2 separate regions of the Homo sapiens genome follow, and region 1 is linked to region 2. The links are contacts of gene promoters, found by promoter capture Hi-C in human tissues and cell types (Jung and others, 2019). All regions are on one chromosome and are shown on one strand. Each heading gives the region's core, a stretch centred on a gene start or on the middle of the fragment in contact. The rest is flanking DNA. Distances are from core to core; before and after follow the strand shown.

Evidence for each region. Contacts are between HindIII fragments. The study calls those that stand out against the background at their distance.
Region 1: a contact is called between a fragment that was not itself captured here and the fragment with the promoter of MRPS28 in region 2, in 1 of the 25 tissues and cell types used here (mesendoderm cells).

Annotation. Positions count from the first base shown.
Region 1 is chr8:80,574,892-80,579,496 of GRCh38, forward strand. No RefSeq gene overlaps it. Among named protein-coding and RNA genes, the nearest start is that of LINC02986, 38 kb to the left of the region's middle. RefSeq lists a silencer at 3,344-3,413. The HindIII fragment of the contact is 3,245 bases long and covers 1,658-4,605 here.
Region 2 is chr8:80,027,307-80,032,119 of GRCh38, forward strand. It overlaps MRPS28 (mitochondrial ribosomal protein S28), which reads right to left and starts at 2,953. Exons shown (of 3, transcript NM_014018.3): 1 at 2,730-2,953. The coding sequence starts at 2,942. The region is part of intron 5 of TPD52-MRPS28 (TPD52-MRPS28 readthrough); the gene reads right to left. It also overlaps a transcript of TPD52 not described here. RefSeq lists an enhancer at 2,676-3,105. The HindIII fragment of the contact is 9,025 bases long and covers 1-4,813 here.

The DNA of each region.
Region 1 (4,605 bases), core at 2,030-4,529, 550 kb after region 2:
AAAAATTTTTAGTCTCTCTCTCTCTCTCCCCCTCCCCAATCTCTTCATTCCTATTTTCTAATAAATCTTATTTAGACTGGAGACCCTACTGGGAAATTTCACTTTTAGTTTTGGGAAATGTCAGTTACTAGTGATGGGAATATCAGAATATTTAAGCAAAGAAAAAAAGAATCTCTCCTCTCCCACATGTGTTAAAAATAGTCACAGGGTATTTTTCCCTCTAAATTCTGAAAAAGGGGGGAAAAAGCACTTTTTGGACTAACGTTAATGAGGGAGTATTTTCCTAAAGGGAAAACCTTTTTAGAAAATTAGAAGAAACAAAAAGATTTAAAACTGCAATCAGTTCTAGCAGAAGGAGGGGTGGGCCAGAAGGCATCTGTCTGTCCGCTTCTTCCCTGGCTCCCTCTCTCTGGACAGGCGCACAGGGCCATCAGGGAGAATGGCTCCGGCTGCAGGCAAACACCCCCTTTTCCCCCTTCAGATCTGCAGGAAGACAGCAGAGTAACTCCCTGCTCTCTAAAACTTCCTGGGGGCTTGGCCTGCTTACCCCGCCCCCAGTCAAGTCAACTGAAATTCAAGCTTGCTCCTGAGCCACAACCTGAAAAAAACCTTCCTTTTAGTGCTCCGCCTAAAAACATTGGCAGTACCAATACTGATTCTCACCTCGTCTCCCTATCGTGCCCTCATCCTGAACCCAGCCACGATTAGCTCCTGGCCTTGGTGACTCTGCACAGGGAAAAGCTAATGTTTAGGCCACCTCTGTTCCAAATGTTCCCATTTTGTTTCTTTCATGCTCCCTTTCCTCAATCACCCACTGCTGTGTTGTTCCCTTCGCCCAGTCCAGGAAAGGGCCACAGGACTGACTGAGACAGAAGAAAAGATGCAAAGGCAAAAGATTTTAAAGGTGGATATATTCTCATTATTCACTTACAGAGGCCAAATTCAGCAGATGACTCTGAACCCTCACTTGACTGATGTGCAGACAAACATCAAATGATGCTTAGCCTATTCCTCCTAATTTGTAGTTGCCTAAGAATTTAAGGTTATGGTCAGACCTTTGATAGAAAATAAAGAAACAAGTCAACGTTATCCAACAGGATACAACCAAATTCTAAAAAGATGGTTTATGAATGAATTCAGAATATGTCTTTTAAATATTGTTACAGTTCTAAATAATCATGTGAAGCTACATTAAAAATTTGTGCAAAGAATCAGTAATAGTATTAATGCAGGGGGAAGGCAGTATCCCATGTCTTTATTTAAAAACTTTTTTACTTACTGCTTCTTTTTTTTTTTTTTTTTTTTTTTTAAGACAAAGTCTCACTCTGTCGCCCAGGCTGGAGTGCAGTGGCATCATCTTGGCTCATTGCAATCTCCGCCTCCTGGGTTCAAGCGACTCTTGTGCCTCAGCCTCCCAGCTGGGATTACAGTCGCCCACCACCATGCCTGGCTAATTTTTTGTATTTTTAGTAGAGACGGGGTTTCACCATGTTGGCCAGGCTGGTCTACTTGCTTAATTTCTTAAAACAAATGTACTCTTATCTCTGCCATTTTGCTATATCAAAGTCAATATAATGATTATCTTTCAAAGTCTTTTTATAATATTGCTATTGCACAGTTTTCGACTCCTTGAATGAAAAAGGCTTGGATGATAACTGCTGAGGAACACTTAAAAATAATGATTCTTGAATTTACATGTCTGTCTTCTGCCAGAAAAATTGGACAAAAGTGAGAAATTCAATTAATCCATAAGTATTTTTTTTTTGCCCACAGTTATAGTCCATATTATCCTAGATGAGATTTGAGGGAGGTTCTGCTCTTGTGGAATGTGTAGTCAGGGAACAAACTAACTGCTCAGAGATGGTAGGTTTGGGGTCTTCAACCCAACCCTGTTGACTACTATTGGGCAAATCTGGGCAGGTTTTATGCCCTTTCGAAACTTCAGTTTCCTCATCTATCAAATGGAATAATAATAGTACCTGTCTTCTAAGTTTAAGAGAATTCAGTAAAATGCAAATGTCTATAAATTGCTTAGAATAGTGCCTGGAATTCAGCGAACCCTCACAAAATGCTACATATCAACTAGTTGGAAATCTAATTCTAGAAGTCATGCATGTTATGTCAAAATAAGTGAACATTTAGAGTTTTATAGATAAACTTACAGTTTACAGAAGTTTGCTTACATTTTTCATCCTTTCTTTTTGGTCAGCGACAGAGTTGAAACCAGATGGGATATCACACAATTACAAACCCACGAGTTTTCCTGTTACTTTAAGGTAGGTGCCTAATTTGGGAGTATGTGGGTAGAAGAAACCAAAAAATGTTCCTTTGGATAATACCTGAAAACAGGGGTTACCGATTTGGATTTTCAGAACAAACAGCAAAACAAAAGCTCAGGCTCTATCCACAGAAACAGTGTTTTTTAGGGCTTCCGAGGATTCTTTGACCTTTGCTTTAGGAAACATGGACAACCTTACATTTGATTGGTGAATTTTCTGCTGGTGTTTTTTTTTTTTTTTTTTTTTCCAAACCACGTTCCCTGCCTGAAAGCTAAACCTATTTATGGTGAGCGCTGTTTTTTCAATTAGGTTTATTTTCATTTTCCCATAGGCCATGTTAGCTGAGAACTTCCAAAAGTTTATTTTTTTTCTCTTTGCTTTTTATAATGGTTTTTAAAATAAAATATACAGCACTTATCTATAGATTTTCTCTGGAAATACTCATGTCTGAAATAAGCTTTTTTTCCACACCTTTAACACCACGTCATAAGAGCTATTCAAAAATGCCTTTCTGAATGTAATTGTTGTCCATTTCTGTGGCAAACTCTATGAGAGCAAGGATCGCGTCCGGTTCGCCAGCTTTGTGAAATATCTTGTGCAAGCTGACGCTTAGCAAACAGTACTTAAGAATGATGATCTGTTTGTGACTCGGCTTCTCCCAAAAATTTTCAGCTGGTTATCAGAAAACATTGTTTAAAATTCCAAGCTTAGCATTAGTAATATGTTTTCTCCACGAGGTCCCTGATTTGGGGTGAGGGGTGGACTGAAAATGAAAACCCACATCACCTTTCTAATAGTTGTGTAACGGAAAATATTCTCTGGTGAAAACACTCCAGGCGAAAGCAAGCCTTAGCTCGGAATTCCCTCCGCGGCCGGCGCCTCCCCTCCGGGGGCCTGGCTCGCAGCCCGTGGGGACGAGGGCCTGCACGTCCCCGGGGGACTGAGGGCTGCTCTGGGTGAGGATGGGAAGGCGGGTGCCGCTTCCGAGGGCTCCTCTCGCCAAGGGAGAGAGCCCTAGACCCGTTCCCGGGGCGCTGCTCTTCCCGGGCTGGGGTGGGCTGCAGCGGCGGCAGGACCTCGCCCCCTCCCGGCCGCCCGCACCCCCGCGCCTCCTCCTAGGGCCCGGTGTCCCACGGGCCTGCCGCGGTCCCCGCCCTCTCCGGCTCCCGCGACTCCCTCCCCCAGGCAGCTGGGGCAGGAATTCGGCTGGAGAATCTGGCCCGGGCACCCGGCCCTGGAGGGCTGGACTGGTTCGCCCGGGGCCGCGCCCTCATCCCCGCTCCTACCCGGCTCCCCGTCCCGCGCTCCTCCCAGCTCTGGCTCCCCCACTCCTTCCCCTCTCCCGCCGGCGCTCCCCGCCTCTGCTCCTCCCGCTCCCCCTCCGGCGCTCCTTCTCCCTGCCCCCCATCCACGCCGCCGCCCCCGGTCTTTCTTCCTGCCCCAGCTCCTCCCCTGCGCCCCTTCTCCCTGCTCCCCTTCTCCCTGCTCCCCTCCTCCTCGCCCTTCCTCCCCTGTTCTCCTTCTCCTCTGCTCCCCTCCTCCCCTCTTCCCCTCCTCCCCCGCTCCTCTTCCCGGTTTGCGGAGCTCCCACGCTGTTGCTATGGAGGCGCCCGCGGCTGTTCGCGGCCAGGCGGGAGCTGCCCTGGGGCCCCGGGGACGAAGTAGGGACTCTGCCCAAGGCTCGGGCGCCTCGCCCCACTGGGGCCCAGGAACAAAGCGCGCCCTCCCCCACCCCGGGAGTGCGCTGTGAGACCCTCAGGCGTCCCGGGCCCCGAGGCTTAAGACCACCGCGAATCTGCTCGCCCCCAACCTCTGTGGGCAGGACCCCTGGGGCCGGGGTGACAGCTGCGCTCTACCGCGCTACCTTCCTGGCCCCCCGAAGATCACTCCCGCTCGCCCCATCCCGGAGGTGTCACTGGGGCCGGGGGACGGCCAGATGGCCCCATTTAACAGGACTATCCGTTTTGTTGGGGGCCGAAGCAGCGTCCAGGCCAATTTACATAGAAAAATGGGGTTTGTGTCCCCAATTCAGTGCAGTGCCCCGACAGCTGGTGGCTCTGTCATCATGTCAGGACCCCACAGCATGATGTTTAAAGTGGCTTTATCTGTGCAGATGTGTGAGTGTGAATAGCAATTGATTGGGAACCAGTAGCTACTAGGTCTGGCTTGAAGATATTAAGCGTTCACAGAGGAAATTTTATCAGCCCGGTCACCGAATAAGAGCCTAGACGGGAAAAGGCCTGCTGAAGACTTCTGATGCTCTCCTGCAGACCTTTTAGCTTATCATTTTATTCAGAAGTCTAAAAAGCCAAATTGTTTGGGTCTG
Region 2 (4,813 bases), core at 1,703-4,202:
GAAGCATTATCTCCACTTTGAGATAAGACAGCAAACTTAGATAGGCTAAGTAAGTTGCCCAAAGTCACTCAGTTGAAAGATGGCAGAAACTGGAAACCTGAACTGAGCCGAAGCTTTTAACCCAAGCAGGGTCTTGAATGGCAGTAGGCCTCTGAAGCCACAGTAGAGAGATGCACCATTGTATATTTAATCTTGCAGGCAGTGTGAATGGAGGTTTAGAAGATTCTCAAGGAGAGCAATAAGTAAATAACCTCATTAAGTCTGATTATAGAGCCCAACTTTAGGAAGATAACTTGATCCACAGTGTGTGTAATGACCTGAACCAGGGAGCAACTGAAGTCAGTGGTATCAATTAAGAAGGAGTAAAGGGGTTCACGTAAACTTCAAATGCTTCAAAGCTAAGAACTTGCTGAACGGAGACTACAACACAGCCTCCTGATATCCTCCTCCCCAGGGAATTTTATTTCCATTAAACCAAGATGTCAAAGACTTGTGAATAAGAAATTGGTGAACTGTACATCACAACCAAACACATTTACCCATCATCTAGTAGAATAATGTTTTCTAAACTGTGTTAGACGGAGAACAACCACGCAGGGTGCAGAGATGCTGCTGAGCCTGAGCTGGACTGAGAAAATCTAACGGATGTGCTGGGACTGCCAGGAAACACCCCAGCCTCCTCCTGGAAAAACTGAACAGCCCAATTAGAACTGCCTTGGAAAGGAAAGGAAAGAGAAAAGGAAAGGAAAGGGAATTCTGGGGACTCTAAAACACCTTGGTTGTTTCCTTCATTAAATAAACAGTACATTTTTAGTTTCAAACACTTAACTTACTATACATGTGATGCTACAATTTTCACTCTTACCACAGTTAACTCAGCAATTGAGAATTATTTTGGGGGGTTTCCGAAGGGGCTTAGAATGTGGTATGAATGGGAGCGAAGCGTGAGTGAGAAATATTAGGTAAGAAATAGAAAAACTCCTTTCCTATACATATATTTGGAAGGGAGCACTGAACTCTATGTTTCCAACCTTACTGCACTTAACTCTTATGGCCTTACCTTAAGGATGGATCTAAAATCCATCCCTTAGGTGGCTTCAGGTCAATCATCGCTATTCTGCTAGTATTTTATGACTTCTCCATATATGGTAGAAAGAATAATGCCCCCTCCCCCTACAAAGACATCCACATCCTAATCTCTAGAATTTGTGAATATGTTACCTTCCGTGGCAAAGGAGAATTAACTTTGCAGGTGGAATTAAGATTGCTAATCAGCTGATCTTAAAATAGATTATCTAGGGAGGCCAATGTAATCACAGGGATCTCAAAAGCAGAAGACGGGCGGGGGGGGCGGGGCCGGGCGGGGTCAGCCAGGCCAGGTGGCTCACATCTGTCATCTGTAATCCCAGCACTTTGGGAGGCCAACGCAGGAGGATCACTTGAACCCAGGAGTTCAAGACCAGCCTGGGCAACATGGCAAAACCCCATCTCTACAAAAAAAAACAGAAAAAACAATTAGCCCAGAGTGGTGGTGCACACCTGCGGTCCCAGCTATGAAGCAGGAGGATCACTTGAGCCCAGGGGGTTTAGCAGTGAACTGAGATCATGCCACCACACTCCAGCGTGGGTGACAGAGCGAGACCCTGTCTCAAAAAACAACAAAACAAACAAAAAAATCCAAAAAACAAAAAAGTAGAAAACAGAGGCAGAAAAGACAGGCCAGGAAGAGATTCTCCTAGAAGCTACGGAAAAGAACACAACTTCACCAACACCTTGATTTTAGACCAGTGAGATCCCGTCTGACTTCTCACAACCCTAACAACAACACATTTCCTGTGTTTTACGCCACTAAATTTGTAGTAATTTGTTACAACAGAAAATAATAAACTAATATACCAGGCTTCTTCTAGTCCTTGGATTTCAGAAAAATTTTGACATCAGTAATTGCTACTAAAATGACCCTATAACCCAGGACACTGCCAGTCTTGTGAACTGTTTGGTACTACTCCCTAGGAAGAAAAATACAGAAATTGAGAGTTTATTTGTATATAATTCAATTTCATGTCTGCTGAGTTTAATTATTAAAAACTTAGGCTTGTAATTTTATTTCTTCCATTTCATTTATCTATAAATTTATGGTATTTTACAAAAGTACTGGCTGAGACAAACGGAGATTTTACTTTACTTTTTAAAAAAAGAAGACATTTACAAAAGAGAGGTGAAGCGCTGACAAGTTAAATCACTTGCCCAAGTTCAGAAAGTGATTCATCACCCAGTCATTAAATTAACAAATGTTTATGAAGGGCCTTCTACTCCAGACAGCAAGCTCCATGCTAGAGCTACTGTTCAGAACAAGACCCAGCAGAGCCCTGCCTCTCCGTGTGAGTCCCATTCTCCTTAGCGTCCCAGGAATCGCCCTAGATCGCCTCCCCAGCAGCGCTCCCCGCTGGTTACCTTCCCACCAGCATTCAATCCCAGGAAAACAAGCGCAGTGTGGACAGACCCGGCCCAGTACGCAAATGCCACACAAAAGGACAACGAAAGGAAGAAAAACACCAAGCACAGATTCTAGGGGCCGAGGGCTGAGCCACAACGCACCGCAACTCCGGAAAACTGGGCCCCGGACCTCAGCTCCCCTTCCTAAGCCAGGCTCCGCCCCTATTCCCGACCCCGCCCACCGCGTCGTTGGCGTAATTCCCGCGACTCCCTCTCACCCGCCCGGGCTCCACCTTCTGTAGGGGCTCCACCTTCTGTAGAAGCTCCGAGTGCCGCTCCAACGCGCTCGCGAAACCGCCTGCGCGCGTCTTAGGCTCCTTGGCATTGGAACTACCACTTTCGGATCCACTCTCAGTGCCTACACCCCGAAAGGGCCTGAAGAAGAGAAACACTCGCAGAAAATGGCTCTCGGCAGCCACAGCACGGGTCCGACACAGCGCCGCCATGACTTCTTTACCTCTGACCTTTGACCTCCCCTCCGCAAGCGCGCGGGTCACGGGGCGGAGCTATGAGAGGTCCGCCCCCCGGACGCAGAGCTCTGGAGGCCAACGAGGCGTGTCTTCCTTTCATCTGGGAGTGGCGTGGGGAAGAAGAGACTTAAGCTAAAATTGGTGGGCTAAATAGTTGGAAAGGGGCCTGGTTAAGTTTTGCGTTAGAAGTGCGTTTAACTTGCAGGAATTTCGCCTTCCTGGGCATCCGTTGGACCCCATTGTACTGTAAATTCTGCTAACGCGACGCTCGTTCTCCCGCCCTGCCGTCCCCCCTACATGGCCGCCAGCACTCGAGTTTGGGGTCTTCACTCAAATATGAGGGTCTCCTTGATTACCCTATTTAGAAGTGGAAGCCCAAATGCAGACTCTCTGGCACCTGTTTTTCTTAGTACCATGTAGCACTTTCTAATATGCCACATATTAATATTAAATATTTAATAATATTTAGTGTCTACTCCCAACTTTTTAAACTTTGAAAAGAGGAACTTTGCTGTAGGGTCCCTAGCACCAGGCACAGATTAGGGCTCACCCAACATTTGCCAAACCCTGCATCCAAGTTTGTCCTTTGCCACTTCTGCAGCCAGTCCACTCACGCCACAAAAATAGTTTTTCTGAAATGTTTTGACACCTCTAGATACCTATTATCTAACTTAGGAGTTCAGAAGTTTTGGAATGTCCCTAAGTATTGCACCGCCGTAGGCCCCCACCCTCACTCTGGATTTTCTTTCCCTTTTCTCCTGCAGTGTTAATTCCCAAAATTTACCCACCCTGTTCAAAACAGCCTAACATCATTCTTAAGTGTTTATTAATTAGTTGTCCGTCTATCTTTGACCCAGCAGTTTAATATTAATCCACAGTTAGTTTTATTTTGGGGGCACACACCTTTCCAGTTCATTTGCAAGTACTTCGAGAGAAAGAATTTTTATGATCACAGACCCTATTTTAAGAATGCCTTGACTATGGGTTTTAAGCTTTTCTGATGCTCTCTAATGGTACAGATAGTGTTAAGAACACGAAGTACACTGATCTCAGAATGGTGCACAATTGTATGAATCACATAAAATTATTACTAGCTAACTGTATGGTAGTCCTTACAAATTCATTAAATTCTCCAGGTGAGTTCTCCCTCTTGGCAGTTAAAACTGTTTATCTCCCGAGACTATTAATGGACTCTTGCCTAGAACATTATTTTCTACGGATAGTGCTACTTCCACTTTTTTTCAGGAGAAAGTGTGGTAAATTGTAAAGAGCATGGCCAGTGGTCTTCAAGAACCCTCAGTCTGACTGGGCAGGGTGGCTTACACTTGTAATCCCAGCACTTTGTGAGGTTGAGGAGGGAGGATTGCTTGAGATGAGGAGTCCGAGACCAGCTTGGGCCATAGCAAGAACCAGTCTCTACCAAAAAATAGAAAAATCAGCCTGGGGCAGTGGTGCATGCCTGTAGTCCCGGCTACTTGGGAGGCTGATGGAGGAGGATCACTTGAGCCCAGGAGTTTGAGGCTGCAGTGAGCTATGTTCCTGCCACTTCACTCCAGCATGGGTGAAAAGTGCAAAACTCAAGTATCCGTAAAAACACACCCCTGGCGTGGTGGCTCACACCTGTAATCCCAGCACTTTGGGAGGCCAAGGAGGGCAGATCACCTGAAGTCAGGAGTTCGAGATCAGCCTGGCCAACATGGTGAAACCCTGTCTCTACTAAAAATACAAAAATTAGCTGGGCGTGATGACACATGGCTGTAATCCCATCCACTCAGGAGGCTGAGGCAGGAGAATCACTTGAACCCAGGAGGTGGAGGTTGCAGTGAGCCAAGATCACACCACTGTTC